Regions from separate parts of the Homo sapiens genome. Here region 1 is linked to region 2. Evidence: promoter capture Hi-C in 16 types of primary human blood cells and fetal thymus (Javierre and others, 2016). All regions are on one chromosome and are shown on one strand. The core of a region is centred on a gene start or on the middle of the fragment in contact, and the rest is flanking DNA. Distances in the headings are between cores, read along the strand shown.

What was found. Contacts are between HindIII fragments. The CHiCAGO score rates a contact against its expected background, and 5 or more counts as called.
Region 1: a contact is called between a fragment that was not itself captured here and the fragment with the promoter of KRTAP13-1 in region 2, in 1 of 17 cell types (M2 macrophages). The highest score is 5.5, in M2 macrophages.

Annotation. Positions count from the first base shown.
Region 1 is chr21:31,014,420-31,017,119 of GRCh38, reverse strand. LOC105372775 (a long non-coding RNA gene) reads left to right here. Exons shown (of 3, transcript XR_937658.1): 3 at 2,352-2,700. Among named protein-coding and RNA genes, the nearest start is that of KRTAP19-8, 23 kb to the left of the region's middle. The HindIII fragment of the contact is 2,489 bases long and covers 125-2,613 here.
Region 2 is chr21:30,394,658-30,397,357 of GRCh38, reverse strand. KRTAP13-1 (keratin associated protein 13-1) reads right to left here and starts at 1,327. Exons shown (of 1, transcript NM_181599.3): 1 at 536-1,327. The coding sequence starts at 1,271. The coding sequence ends at 753. All of the region lies in intron 3 of LOC105372772 (a long non-coding RNA gene), which reads left to right. RefSeq lists an enhancer at 970-1,471. The HindIII fragment of the contact is 9,188 bases long and covers 1-2,700 here.

The DNA of each region.
Region 1 (2,700 bases), core at 120-2,619, 620 kb before region 2:
CCACTATAGGGGATTGCTGTGGTTTAAATGTATGCATCCCTCCAAAACTCGTATGTTGGAATGTAAACCCCAAGGTGATGATATTAAAAGGTAGGCCTTGAGAGGTGACTAGGTCGTGAAAGCTTCACCCTCATGAATGAGGTGTTAACCACCTCAAAAACCACTATAAAAGGGATGGAAGGAACTAGCTGCACCCCTTTTTGGCCTTCCATTTTCTGTCGTTTGAAGACACAGCATTCATCTCTTCTGCCAGGTGTGGATGTAGGAACAGGGTGCCATCTTGGAAGCAGAGAACAGCCCTCACCAGGCATGGAATCTGCTGGTGCCTTGATCTTGGATTTCTCAGCCTCCAGAACTGTAAGAGATGTATTTCTCTTTTTGTAAATTACTTAGTCTCATTTTGTTATAGCAGCAAAATCAAACTGAGGCTGATATATAAAACAGACATGGTATGATTTCTGCTCCCAAGAGCTTACATTTTAATTGAAGAAATATAATGTGAAATTTTAAAGCAAGAATAGCAACAACTAGATCACAAGAAGATAAACATGCAGGTCAGTAAAAAGAATAAAGGAATTAAAATGCCTCTTAACTGTTAGTCCAATTCTCTAAGTTTTGCAGATCAAGAAACAAAGGCTTGGACAGGCTATTTTAAGCAAGTCTTAATAAGGCAAAAACATTTTCATGGAAACAAAATGTTAGAAGTACATTTAAAAGTATGACTGGACGTTAACTGTGATTTGAACATTCACAACAGTTATAGGTGAGCATAGGTTCCACAAGGAAGTTTTCTGGTCTTTATTTGTAGATTTAATAAAATCCAAAAGTTTGTTTTGTTTGTTGGTTCATTTTGAGATGGAGTCTTGTTCTGTTGTCCAGGCTGGAGTGCAGTGATGCAATCTCGGCTCACTGCAACCTCCACCTGCTGGGTTAAGCAATTCTCCTGCCTCAGCCTCCCGAGTAGCTGGGATTACAGGTATATGCCACCATGCCTGGCTAATTTTTGTATTTTTAGTAGAGATGGGGTTTTGCCATGTTGGGTAGGCTGGTCTGGAACTCCTGGCCTCAAGTGATCCTCCTGCCTCAGGCTCCCAAAGTGCTAGAATTATAGGCATGAGCCACCACGCCTGACCCAAAAGTTTATATGATGAAATATAACATTAGCATATAAATAAAATATATTTCTGCAGTCTATACATCTTTGCCCTACTTAAAAATTCTAATTTGCCAGATGTGGTGGCTCACACCTTTAATCCCAACACTCTGGGAGGCAAAGGTGGGAAGATTGCTTGAGTCCAGGAGTTTGAAACCAGCCTGGGCAACATAGCAAGACCCCATCTCTACAAAAAATTAAAAAAAAACCTAGCCAAGTGTGGTGGTGTGTGCCTGTAGTTTCCGCTACTTGGGAAGTTGAGTAAGGAGGATTACTTGAGCCCAGGAGGTCGAGGCTGCAGTGAGTTATGATTGTACTACTGTACTTCAGGCTGGGTGACAGAGCAAGACCCTGTCTCTCGCTAAAAATAAAATAAAATAAAATAAAATAAAATTCTAATTTATCTTATTAAAAAAAGGATTGCAAATACTTAAGAAAGGCTTTCTGAGTGTCTATTTTCTTTGAAGGGCCTCTCAGTGTACATAGTTTGCAGCAAGGCTTTCAAATATTTATTTGTTGGTTACAAATGCAATTTTAAGTAGTCTGACAATCATTCATTTTCTGAAATATTATCAACAAGAGTAGACTTACTGAAGCAGCCATTAGTAGAACTGATTATAAATATCAGGTTGTATGTACCAGATTCCTTGAACTGTCACCTCTTAGAGACGTGAGTTAAATCAGCAGATTGCTGTGGAATTAGAAAAAGAAATGAAGACATCTTTAGGAACAAAATATATGATTTGACAGTATAAATGTATGCTGTTGCAGGCAAAGGAGAAAGAAAAATCTTTACTCCAAGACAAAGTGAACACTAGTGTGGTTCATGGGCCTCCTGACAAAATATCTGCTTGGGTGCACACAAGATGGGTCACAGCTGGCAAGAGATAGAGATACCAGCACAGGAGTATTCTAGCACACTCTTACAAATGTGTTAGAGAAAACACCCGATTTACAATTCTGCTCTCTATTAGCTCCATCCTTGTCCCTGAGCTACGGGAACACACACTAAAACTCACACATCAAAATGAAATCCCAAGGAAACCTAAGTAAAATGTAAACAAAAATATAACCCTTGAGAAAGACAGCAGGTCCAACAGTCACAGTAAGGAAAGTCTGTATAATTTTTTTCAAAAGCTGTTGCTTTGTTCAATCATACTTTGAAATATTCATTAAAAAAGTTTTTTTGATCCTTTAGGACTTCTTTGGAGGAAATCTATGCAAAGATAAACAGAACAGATGAAGAAGGTGGGAGAACCATGATGGAGAGGTTTACAAGCTGATTTGTTAAAATGATCTTTTTTGATTGGAGATGAACTGTGGATAAACGAACACTGTCTGTGAGGGACTTTTCTTTTTTTCTTTTTGCACTTTCTAATCCCCTCAGAGATAAGAGGACATCTAGAGGTCTTTCTCTTCAGATTCTAACGAGGCTAAGGCAGAGAACGATTGAAGAAGCTTATATAAGCATTACTCTTATTATGGATTGAATTCTGACTCCTCAAATTCGTATGTTAATGTTCTAACCCCCAATGTGACTGCATTTG
Region 2 (2,700 bases), core at 78-2,577:
TGATCATGATTACCAACAAATATTGGGTGACTTCAAAAGTTACTTCAAATCACTTTTGTTTCTCTTCAATTCCATTTTTCTTTTATGTATATCTATAACCATATTGTTCTAAATAGTATTTTTTTCTCTGCAGATTCCTGATATAACTATCAACTAGTTTGCTACCTTATGCTTGTTGGCATAGACACAAGAATCCACATTTTATAAGGGGATCAAGCTAATTCCTGATTCTGATATTTTAATGAATAAAAGTCTGTAAATTTAGTAGACTTCCACTACCTGTAGTTTGAATAACAAAAATCTCTGAGGCCCCCAAAAGTTTGTCTGAATCGCAAACTTCATATGATTTTGAAACCTATTCCTATATATATACACCAATTGTTTCATAATAATTGCCTAATACATCACAACCAAAACCCTAGCAATATAAAACCACCACAAACATAGCTGAATATGAGACCAATGGATTTATTGGATTAAAATGATTTGACTTTTTATACAATTGTGGAAGAAAATCGAATAATATAAATTCTACTTTTAATGTGTATTTCAAGATTTATTTTGAGCTAGTTCTCCAATTACAGTTTTTCAGATGAAGCCTGCCAGCCAGTATTTGGGGACAAAGACAAACTGAGAACTTGATAATTATAGAATAAGAGGCTAATTCTTTCTGTACATGATGAAGACAATAAAGGTTATGAGTAGAGGCATTGAAGGCATTAGCCAACAAAATCAGCAATTTAACAAGATGATCAATAGTAGAAGCCTGATCCACAAGTTGGTCTGTAGCAAGAAGACTGGCAGCTCCTAGAAGCCAAGTAGGTTGGGCGGCAGAATCCAACGCCATAGCCCAGGGAAGGGAAGCCACAGCCTCCATAACCCAGGGATCTGAAGCCACTGGACCCACAGCCCACTGAGTAGCAGCTCCTCGATCCATAGCCCAGGGAGCGGCAGCTGCTGGATCCAAAGCCTAGAGACCCAGAGTAAGTTGTCTGGCAGGGACTGCAGAGCAAGGAGGTTCTGGGACGGTAGCAGGAGGTCTGGCAGGGGCTGGACTCCACATAGGATGTCTGGCAGCTGGTGGGCTCCCAGCAGGTCTGCTGACAGCCCCTATAGAGAGAGGAACCCAGCTGGCACGTGCTGGGAGAGCAGAGGTCAGTGCTGTAGACCTGGTTGCTGGGGTAGGAAAAGCCACAGGAGGAGGCTGGGTAGTGCAGGTAGCCACCACAGGAGCGGGAGGAGAAGTTTCCAGAGCAGCAGTTGTAGGACATGTTGATGGGAGATGTGAGTTCAGCTGAGTTACACTGAGAAGATTCTGAGTTTGCATGCCACATCTGGACAGGACCATTTATATACGTTCAGCCGTGGGTGTGGCACCTTACAGGGTCATCCTTCACACATTTAAGCTCCCACATTTCATATAAGCAACTTAGTAATCTTCTTTGTCATTGCAGTTAACTAACACCCTTCATCTTATATTTATGGAAGAACTCCTTTTGTTTTTACAGCTCTGCGTCAATGAAATGCATTTATGTTACAAATGCTATGACAGTATGTGATTAGTCCCTACTCCATTATGTCCAGGAAAACCCCTCTTATTTTCTCTGCCCATGATTTATACATCTGCTCCTGTTTTGGCTGGGAAATTCTTTCTGTCTTGGGTGGGGATAGCAATGTATTCATCTTTTTTTGTCAGTGGCCTAGAGGCAGAAATCTTATTGTTCACACTCTCCAAAATAGTTTGCCATCTGTTATTTACTATAATCAGTGCTTGTAAGTCCAGTCTCGAGGGCCTATATAAAAGTAAGCCAAAGGAATTGAGAGATAACTAGACATAGATATCATCTTGAACAAATTTTTTTAAAAAATTAGTATTTAGAAAAAAGAAATCAAAACAAAAGCAAAAAATAAATAAATACAAATACAACAATAAGGACCCATGTGAAAAAAAGGAAAGTAGAAGACACTGCTGAGATGAGGTAGGAAACAAGTCAGAGTAGTCACAATAGCAGAAGGATGCTCAGGACTCCATCCTAAAAGCAAATCAAAATGCTTTCAAATAAACTTATTTGATGACTTTTGTATGATGCATTCATATTTGTAAGTGTTCTGGAGCCTACCTGTCTACAACACCTCTAAACCCCCACCTCAAAATGTTGACTGCCTTCTGAGCATTTGCGGGGTAACACCAGCTTCTATGTTTTTCGTGACTCTGTCCCAGCCCTCTTTAAAGAGGTGGATTTAGGTTTTGTGGTGTTGAAAAGTATAATTTGGAGATCCTCATTAAAAACACAATATTAGGAATATAATAATAGATATAAACATGGATATTAACTTAGAATAAAAACTTCCATAGTTAACAAAACCCAAGATGTCACAAAATCAAGACAATAATATACCTTTATCATCATCCTCATCTATAATCTTTTTCTACATTTTTTGGTTGCATAGTCGGTCTTTGATCATCTCTACACATGACAATGGTTTTGTCCACATGATTTTCTGTAGAACAAATGGAAGTAAAACTTGGTGTTTCTTTTAGAAATAGTACATCAAAAATACTTGAATTATTTTTTATGACACAGAAAAGTTTTTTTTTTTTAACATTGCCATTTGTTGTGAGCAACGCCACAGCTGTAACACCCTCTGTCATTTCATTTCAGCAGTGCTTCAAGCCTGAGATTGTGCGCCTCTTGTCCA